Regions from separate parts of the Homo sapiens genome. Here region 1 is linked to region 2. The links are contacts of gene promoters, found by promoter capture Hi-C in blood cells and fetal thymus (Javierre and others, 2016). All regions are on one chromosome and are shown on one strand. Each heading gives the region's core, a stretch centred on a gene start or on the middle of the fragment in contact. The rest is flanking DNA. Distances are from core to core; before and after follow the strand shown. Region 1 has its middle 150 kb from the start of LINC02550. Region 2 holds the start of ARHGAP20 (Rho GTPase activating protein 20).

Region 1 (4,941 bases), core at 264-2,763, 240 kb before region 2:
CCTGTATTGTCCCTAGAATCTTCTTTACCTCCACTTTTCCCCTCTTTGGTTAATCACACAGATTCTGCTGAGAATTGTGCCTTTACACAAAGATTGAACAGCCTTGGAGGAGGGTAGATCTGTGTGAAAGATCCCCAGCTGTGCTCAGTAGAAATGTTCCATTAAATATCTCAGTCTTTATCACGAGGACATCACAAGCTGTTCTAATCATACACTGTCCGGCCAGGCTGAATGGTGGCAGAAGCATGGGGCCCGTCTGACACCCCCTGCCTGCTTCCTCCATTTGGAGCTAGATCTTAAGGGGTGAACAATGTCACTCTCACCTCACAGTGGACTTTGCCCTGCAGCAGGAGACTGGTGTTTCTGCTTTCCAACTAGTAAAACATGCTTTAGAGCCCTGTTCATCCATTTTATTCCAGGGAGGACAATAATTTTTACAGGTGCTAAAAAATGCAAACATGTGAAAGCTAGTGTTCTTAATAATACTTAGATTAAGTTTTGTGATGTTGTCTCAGAAAACATAATTCAGATGCCCATGACCTCTGTTTTTTTATTTTAAAATCAAAGTGAAAATATTAATTTGCATTTGGAATTATCTAAGCTTGCTTGATACAATACCTGGCACTTTATGGATGCTCAAAGAATATATTTATTTTATGAATAATTTGATCGGGACATGAAATATGATACCTGAGAGGAGGAATGTATGTTGGAGGTGAGAGCATGGGTTCAATTTTAATTCTGGACATAGATTAGAAATGTCTGAGGAACAGCCAGCATAGGTGACCAGTTGATCATTAGAAATGTGAGACTACCAATCAAGAGAAGAATCAGGAACATTCCCTCCTTCAGGGAGCCTACTTGTGGTTCAGCCTCCCCAAGCCCAGTATGATGTACTTGTACGTTTCTCTCACAGTTATTACCTGTGATGATTTTTATTTAGCTCCATCATTAGAGTATTGGCTCCTTGAGACCATGGACTATATGTTGTTGGTCAGTTTTATCCCCAGAACCTAGTATGGTCCTAGCACAAGGCAGACACTTAATGTTTGTTGACTGAATTATGAAATGAGTGATATTTTTTTAAAAAAGTGAATTGACTTTCTTAAATCCTCAGCACTGTTCTTGACCCACCCTTTCCCTTGACATCCCAAGTGTAACAGAGTCATTCCATTCTGCCTCTTTCTCCAGGGCTCATGAAGCTCACCTGGACTATGACAGTAGCCTTCTTTTATTTATTATTTTTTGAGATGGAGTTTCACTGTTTCACCCAGGCTGGAGTGAAGTGGTGCAATCTCAGCTCACTGCAAACTCCGCCCCCTGGGTTCAAGTGATTCTCTTGCCTCAGCCTCCCGAGTAGCTGGGATTACAAGAGTGCACCGCCATGCCCAGCTAATTTCTGTATTTTTAGTAGAGACAGGGTTTTGCCATGTTGGCCAGGCTGGTCTGGAACTCCTGACCTTAGGTGATCCATCTGCCTCGGCCTCCAAAAGTGTGAAGATTACAGGCCTGAGTCACCGCGCCCGGCTGACAGTAGCTTTCTAATGGAGCCATCTGCTTCCAGTCTTGCCTCTCAACCCCCAATTCATCCTGGACTCCTTGCCATAAGTGACCTTGCTAAATGGAGATTTGCCTCAGGTAACTTCTCTGCTTAGAGGCCTGGAGTAGCTCCTCATTTCTTTCCAGATAAAACTCAATCCCTTTCCTAAGGCATGTAAGACCCTCTAGAATCCTGCTTCTGCTTACTGCCCTAACCTTCTTTATTGCACCTCTCCATTATCCAGGCTCTGGAGCCAGAGAAACTTAGGTTTCCAGCTCAACTACTTATTCACAAAAGTTCAAGGGCAAGTGTTTTCATCTGGACTTCAATATTACGAACTACACAATGGGTAAGCTACTGCTACCTATTTCTGAGGTTATACTGAGTATCAGATTAAAAGCAAACATGTGAGGTGCTTATCTTAGTAACTGGTATATAGTGAAGGCTAAATAAATGTTAGCCATTACTTTTGTTATTATGAGCATTCTTTTTCAAAAATTACTTGCTCACTCTTCTTTGTGTCCTATTCAAACACTATTTCTTATGTCTTCTCTTCTTTGTCCAATTAATTCCTCAATATTAAAGACTCAGCTCTGATTACATTTAACCAAGGAGGTCTTTCTTGAGCCTACTGTTTGACTACCTCTATTTATCTCAGTGTTTTATGGATACTTATTTTATACATAGTTATTTCAGAAACAGCTTTTAAATGAATGGAAATTAATTATTGAACTCATCTAATTGTTCCACTATAGTATGAGCTCCTCAAAGGCAAAAGGTCATTTAATGTGGTCTCTAGAAAATAGCAAGTATTCAATTAATGCTTCATGGAGGAAAGAAGGAAAGAGGGAGGGAAGGAAGGAAGAAAGGAAGGAAGGAAGCTTTAAGAGAGGTAGGAAATTCAAGAGTAAAGTAGGTCTTAGCAAGAAGATAATGCTCAATTTAAGAGACTGGTATGGTTTGGCTGTATCTCCACCCAAATCTCATCTTGAATTCCCATGTGTTGTGGGAGGGACCCAGTAAGAGGTAATTGAATCATGGGGGCAGGTCTTTCCCATACTGTTCTCATGATAGTGAATAAGTCTCACAAGATCTGATGGTTTTGAAAAATGGGAGTCTCCCTACACAAGCTCTCTCTTTGCCTGCTGCAATCCATGTAAGATGTGACTTGCTCCTCTTTTCCTTCCACCATGATTGAGAGGCTTCCCCAGCTGTGTGAAACTGTAAGTCCAATGAAACCTCTTTCCTTTGTAAATTGCCCAGTCTCGGGTATGTCTTTATTAGCAGCATGAAAATGGACTAATACAGAGATACTGAAGTGATTAGAAAACACTTCCAAAAGTCTCTTGGTCTAGAGCCCAAGAGAAAGACTAGGGGCAAAGACGTAGACTTGGCAGATGTAGCATATGGGTGGCAGTTTAAGGGCATGGCAGTAGATGTAATTACCTTGACAGGATGTTCAGAAAGAGAAGTCAAGGAAGGATTGACTTCTGAGAGACACCAATATTTAAAGGGCAAGCAAAAGAATGCCTAGCAAAGGACTATCTGTTTCCTTCCTTGAACCTAGGTATGGTTTCAAAATCCCTCACTTGTGACCCAAATTGCTATTTCAAGATGAAGAACATTCCATCTCTCATTCAAGGGGCAAGGAACTAGGTTAAGTAAATGTTATTGAGTCATATGCTGAACAGCTGTGTCCTTCTCCAGCCCTATTTCTCACCACTATTCTGCAAGAAACTTTGGCTTTTGCCAAGTCTCTCCACCCTCCCCAATTACGTACTCTGTTTTCCACCTCCACCTCCACCCCTACACTTCCATTCTGCGGCCTTTGCTTATGCTGATCCTCCTATCTGGACTGTCCTCTCCGTTCTTTATCTACCTGATGTTCATTTGGTCTCCAATGCTTCTTCTAAGATCCATCACTTGCATGCAGTCTTCCTCAGTTATTCCAATCCACACTGACATCCCTGTCCTCTGATGTCTAGGGATTTGTGGCACCCACACTTATATTGCCTTTTTGTTTGTTTGGTTATTCTCAAATTGACCTCTCAGCGAGAGGGTGCTCCTTGATCAAAGGAATTATGGACTGAGAATCTATGGCCTAAACACTGGTGTCTTAGCTCCCAAAATTCATAATGAGTTTATGCAAACTTTTATGCCCCCTCCCCTGAGCACCCCTTCCCCACTCTCTTCTTAGAGACTTCCTGGCTGGAGGAAGAGTCAAGCGTTAGCTTTGGCCTGGGTGGTCTGGCTTTATCTAGATGAGCAGGACAGCTACTAAACACTGAAAGGTCTCCTGTGGCTTGAAAGAGTTAAAATACCTCCTGGAGGGTCCAATTTCCAGAGAGCTAACTCTTTCAAAGCCAAAATTGGCAAAGATAATCTACCCCCAAGCTGGAAAATGTAGTTAAAAAGTCAGTGGAGGATAGGGCAAGGAAAAGATATTGGTAAAGAAAATGCCTTTTCTTTCAAATGGGTTGAGTTGGTAACTTGAAGACACAGACTTAGACAACAGGACTCTTAATCCTGAAAACTTTGGAATGTGATTGCAGAGTCTGGGTATTGGGGACGAAGGTGCTCCTGGGCTAGGGAAGGGCAGGCTGGGGAAGGGCCAGGCAAAGCCATTGTATCTGGTCATTGAGAAGATTGGTGTGTGAGAAATGAGGCCTCTTGGCTGCAGCTGTCCCCTGGGGCCCATTAGGGCATTCACACTGTGTGACGACTGAGAACAGGCAGGTCCCTAAGCCAAGACCCAGGCCCAGGCCCAGGTTCATAGAATTCTGGGTGTTCCCAGAGTTTGATAGAAGCCAAATGTTTTCATTTCTTATGAAAATTCCTTTCAGAACAGCCTGTTTAAGATGAACTCAGTCGGTGCTAGTTCTGCTTTGCATAGGAAAGTCTTTAATGCTAAACAGGATGTTTTCAAGAAAGAAGGGACAATAACAATATTACTAAATAGACCATTTAGAGTCACTTCCATGTGCCAGGCAAAGTGTGAGGGCATTTATGAACATTCCCACTCCCATGGAAGCTGGGTGCCTTTATCTCCATGTTGCAGATTAGCTAACTAGAGTCGAGGAAGGTGAAATAGGCTAGTGGCTAAAAACCTTGGAGCAACATAGATTTGTTTTCAGATCAACATAGATTTGTTTTCAGATCCCAACTCCATCATATCTTTCATTGAAATCTTTCCTGAGGGCCTATTGTGTGTGCATGGATTGGGGATGCACATCACTTAAGAAGACAGACAAGGTCCCTGCCATCACTGAGTGTACATTTTGTCCTGGAGTGGGAAGGGAAGAGAGGAGCGGAACTGATAGAGCAAACATTCAACAAGATAATTTCAAATGGAGATATTATGAGTAAAAACAAAATAATGTGAGCAGGAGGGGAGTGGATAG
Region 2 (5,232 bases), core at 146-2,645:
AAAAACTGTGTGTGTATATGCACACATACATAAACACAATAATAGATGATTTACAAATCATACATGTGATTTATACGTGTGTGTGATTTATACGTGTGTGTGATTTATAAAGCCTATGTAAGCCTACTTTAAACAGTGTGAGGTGGACAAGGCTTAAAACGGGCTGGAACATTTTCCCCCTATTATTTCCACAATAAACCATTCCTGGGCATGGTGGTGATGTGTGCGCGCGCGAGTGTGTGTTGGACAGCATCCCTTCCTTGGAACAGAGCCGGCCAGAGCCCTATTCTTCTACAACCTGTCCTAATAACAGCCTAACCTGGCAGGAACCTCGATTTTTTTCTTCTTACCACAAAAGCAAACCAAACCCCTTCCACAACCTAATATCATAGCGTGGTGTCCTTCCTCACTAATCCGCCACTGCTTCTCTAGTCCTGACTCCAAGGGAAGAATGCCATCTACCGAATCATCCGTACCAGTCAACCAGCCCCGCAAAGTGCAGCAACACTCAGCTCAACGCGGGTCAGCTCCAAATCCTCTCCCTCTGATTATTCTTTGGCCTTTAAAATATTTTTGCCTCTATTTGGGCTGACAGGAAGTTATGCTCTCGGCGCAGATATCTGATAAACACTTCCACATATTGTAGCCTTCTCAATAGCTTAGCCAAATTTCGGCGTCCTCGCTCTGTCTGCATTTTCCTTCATTGCTCTTTCACGTTTGGAATGCCCCCGTCTCTGCAGCCTGCAGACAGCGGAAACCGCGGGTGCAAATGTGCAGGGGCCGCTGACATGACCGGCTGCAGAAGCCCACTCAGGGTTACCCGAACAGGCTAGCGTTCGGGATTGCACAAGAGGTCAGGCGATGCTGTGGGCTTCCAAATTTGTACAGCTGCGACACTCTGCGACGTGCCACCCTATCCCCAGTGGGGTGGGGTGGGGGATTCCCTCCGCAGTCCGCTGAAAGCGAGGCAGGAATCACTGCAACTCCTCTGCTCAGGCTGAGGTCGCCACCGCTCCGCGGATGCACGCGCTGCAGGGGCGCCTTCCGCCGCGGGCACGGCGCGGGAAGGGATGGGGTCTGGTGGGAGTGGGCAGGTGGCGGGAGAGGCGCGTGTCCGTGCACTAGAGGCCCCCGTGCGTGACACAGGCCGATGAGCTCCTGCGGGCTGCACCCACGCGGAGTCACAGACCGAAAAGGTCAGCCGGTGGCCGGTGTGCTAACATATATAGAGAGACGCCCGCCAGGCGCGCCGCAGGCTGGGACGAGGCTAGGAGGGCCCAGGCTGGAGGAGGGCTGAGGAGGGCTGCGGGGGCGGGCCCCGGCGCAGGGCGCCCGGAGCGGAGGGGGCGGGCCCGAGGCGGGGCGGGCCGCGGCGCTGACGGGCTGTCGCCGCTGCACTCGCCTCCAGCCCGCGGTGTCGAGCGCAGGCGGAGGTACATGGCCCCGACGGGAGGCGCGCGGCGAGCACCCGGAGCTCGGCTCCCTGCCTGAGCACGGCAGCCGCGCCTCCGCCCGCGCGTCCTCGCCCCTCCGGCCGGCAGCCCGCGGACATGATCGTGTAGCCTCCTCCTGGGCTGGGATTTGTTTGAAGATTTTCTTCATGGAAGCGATGTCCCCCCAGCAGGAGACTCTAGGGGGACAGCCGGGGCGCTCCTCTTCCCTGACAGGAGTGTCTCGGCTCGCGGGAGGCAGCTGCACCAAGAAGGTGAGGACGCTGAGCGGGGGCCCGTGCCCTCCGCCGCCGCAGCCCCCACTGCCGGCGCGCGCCCTCCGCGCCCGCCACAGCAGCGCGCTAGGCGGACGCCGCGGGAATTTGACGCTCGAGGCTCGCGGCCCCTAATGAGAGTCCCAGAACACTTCCCGCCCTTGACGGCCAGCGGCAGCGCCGCCGCCTCCCGCAGAGCGCCCGCTTCTCCGTTTCTAGAGCCTTAGTCTCTCCTCGAGCGACCTCGCAGCCTCCCTCCCGTCTCCATCCGCCGCCGGTTCTGCAGCCCGGCTCCTCCCTCAGTCTAGGCGCGCGGGCTGTAGTGGGCGATCGCCTTTCCCCGACCCCTCGCCGTGCCCCTGGGCCTCCCGAAGTGGCCTGGGCGAGCACTGACTGCCCTTTGGCGGTGTCAGCCCCAAAGTCAGGGCCGGCGATGTCTGCCCGGGAGCGGCAGCCGGCGCTGAAGAAGGTAGGCAGCGGGGCTGCGGCGCTGGTGGGCTCGGCCCCCTCACCTGCCCGCCGAGGCGCGGCTGCTCCATAGCAGTTTTCGGGGGGCAGATATGGGGAGTACTGCCCCCCACACCAGGGTCCTGGATGATTCCGGGTCTCCCAGGTGGGGGTCACAGTTTGAGGGGCGACTGTGGATGATAACGCTCGACACTACGGGGACATGTAGGTTCGGCTGGGCCTAGAACCGAGCAGGGTGGGGGCGGGTGGGCTGTGGTTGGGGGTCCTGAGGGCTGAGGTGGGGGACCTTCTCCCTGCACTGGTCCCTGGCCCCTGGGACTCTGGCCGGGCTGGATAGGGATCCGGGTGTCGGTGTGGGCGTGGGGGCAGCGCGTGTTCCCTGTCAAAGCTGGGAGAGGGATGCAGGTGACAACTTGTAGCGTTCCATTCCGATAAACACGGCCGCTGTGCTGCGGGAGGATTCCGATCCGGGTCAGGTTTCGCTGGAACGGTTCCCTGAGCAAGTGCACGTGGGCCGCGGGCTGCCGGCCTCTGCCGTTTCGCTCCCTGAGGAATTGATTTGGGTGTTTCTAGCCCTGTCTGCCTGTCCCCCGCCTCCCCACCCCCGCTTCCAGCATAAGACTTTCCGATATTTTGCCTTTTTTTTTTTTTTTGCCTTGTCTTAGTGGTGCCCTTCCAGCTTTTCTGGAAACAAGTTGCGATTAGAGGCATCTTCTAGCTTTTCCTTAAGAAATATCTTAAGGGATTGCATTTGTTTCATTAGAGACTTAAAGGGGTTACGCAGGTTCCCTGCTTGTCTTGATTTTACTGCCTTTCATAAATCTTCCCACCAGGATCTTAGGTTGGCTAGAGGTCAGTTGAAGAGAGGTGATCGGTGTGCCGAGTATAGAAATGTGTGGGAGTTCCCAAGGACCTTGACCGTGTCACGGAGCCATCTAGGGGTGTCCGTGAACTTGATGATGTATGGGCTGTAGTGCCAGCTCAGCCTTTGATGTATTGAGGCTGCGGTTTGTCCTTGTCGCTTTTCCCCTTCGGAGATGGAGGGAGTGTGTGTGTGTGTAGTCAAGTCTTCCCAAATAAAACGTGAATTTATCAGGCTAGCCCTACATTTACTGACATAAATTTTAAAACTTAAAGCATTTTATTTTTGTAAACGTAAGGAATTGGAAGAAAATCAAAGATTTATTTTTCTGAACAGTTTTTTCTTTTTTTCTTTTTTTTTTACTAAGGGTATAACACTGCCAAAGGGAGGAAGCATTAAAGAGGAGCTTTATTATCATTTATCAAGTAATACTTGTCCAATAAATGAAGGGTTGCTTCGCTCTTTTCCCACATTCTTTTTACTTATCATAGCCACCGTCCTTAAGATGCTGTCGTTTGTTATGAAACTTAACAGGTTCACACATTAACAAACCAGTACCTACCTTTCCAACATCGTTGGGAAGATTAAATGTGAAATTCAGTGAATAATGACATATAATAGACATTTAATAAATGTTAGCACTTACTGTTTGCAACATCCCTATATCTGTAATTCATACCTTTGTGTCCCAGTTGTTCAAGCCAAAAATCTAGGATTCGTTTTCAACTCATTTCCTCTCTCTGCACCAACCAATCCATCAGGGAAGCTATTGTCAATCCGAACGTGTCTTGAATTTCTCCACTTCATCTCCACTGTTGCCAGTGTAGTCCAAGCCAAGCCGCCATCTCTCACTTGTACCTTTGCAGAAATGTCTTAACTTGCCTAACACCTTTCTTGCCCTTCTTTGATCCAGTCACCACTTTGCACCAGAATAATCTTTTAAAATGTAAATTAATCATGTTGCTTACCTGCTTAAAATCCTGCAGTGGCTTTTCATCCATTTATAATAAAATTCAGACCCCTTTTTCTTGGCCCTGTCTACTTCTGCCACCTCATCTATGCATCCCCCCCTTGTTTGTGTATTCTCCAACCACATGGGCCTTCTTCCTCTTCATATTTCAAGTCATCAAATTCATTCTTATTTTGAGGCCTTGATGGTGTTTCTCTGTGCTTCAGCCCCAGGTCTTTGCAGTCCTGACTTTCATATTATTGTCAGATCGTAGGTTCTAGCAGAGGCCTGCCATTGACTACCTAAGTGGAAGTGCTCCTCAGTCATTCTCTATACCTTCTGCTTTATTGTCATCTTAGCATTCATCCTGGCCTGATATTTTCTTATTTACTTGCTTGTTATCTGTTACCCACATCTGTCACCAGATTGAAAACTATGATAATAGGGACCTTATCTGTATTGCTTAGGGCTGCCTCTCCAGCACCTAGAATAGTGTCTGCTATATATTAGATTTTCCGTAAATATTAGTTGGGTTATGTACAGCAGTGAACAGGACAGATATGGCCCCGTCCTCAGAATTTATGGCTCAGAGCAGGGTCAGCAAACCTTTATTTAAAGGACCAGATACTAAATATTTAAGGTTTGTAGGCCCTTTGTTACAGGCTACTCAGTTCTGCCATTATAGTGCTAAAGCAGCCATAGACAATGAAGAAATGAATGGGCATAGCTGTGTTGTAATAAAACTTCGTTTAGAGAAACAAGTGGTGAGTCTCTGTGGTGTAGTTTCCTCTCTCCTAATTAGGGGAGAGTAGTGCCACTGAGTGGTACATTGTGTAATGATGGAACGCCTTTATCTACAGTGTCCATTCAGTAGCCACTAGCTACATGTAGCTATTGAGCTCTTGAAATGTGGCTGGCATGACTGAGAAACTAAACATTTTTTAACAGCTTCATTGAAGTATAATTGATATAGAATAAACTGCACATATTTAAAGTATATAAATTTAATAGTTTTGACATATATATACGCTTGTGAAAACATCTCCACAGTTTAGCTAAGGAATATATTCGTCATCCCCCAAAGTTTCCTCATGTCCCTTTCTAATTCCTTAATTCCCTCCCCATTCCCAGGCAACCACTAATCTGTTTTCTCTCACTGTAGGTTAATTCACACTTCCAAAGATTTTTTGTAAATGTAATCATACTTTATATTCTTTTTTTGTCTGGCTTGTTTCATTCAATACAATT

The links. The method cuts DNA at HindIII sites, captures the fragments that hold promoters and counts their contacts. A CHiCAGO score of 5 or more calls a contact.
Region 1: a contact is called between a fragment that was not itself captured here and the fragment with the promoter of ARHGAP20 in region 2, in 1 of 17 cell types (M1 macrophages). The highest score is 5.6, in M1 macrophages.

What each region holds. Positions count from the first base shown.
Region 1 is chr11:110,946,604-110,951,544 of GRCh38, reverse strand. No RefSeq gene overlaps it. Among named protein-coding and RNA genes, the nearest start is that of LINC02550, 150 kb to the left of the region's middle. The HindIII fragment of the contact is 1,820 bases long and covers 604-2,423 here.
Region 2 is chr11:110,708,600-110,713,831 of GRCh38, reverse strand. It overlaps ARHGAP20 (Rho GTPase activating protein 20), which reads left to right and starts at 1,395. Exons shown (of 15, transcript NM_001384657.1): 1 at 1,395-1,705. The coding sequence starts at 1,601. RefSeq lists silencers at 1,284-1,443, 1,464-1,523 and enhancers at 1,047-1,548, 2,531-3,176. The HindIII fragment of the contact is 6,153 bases long and covers 1-5,232 here.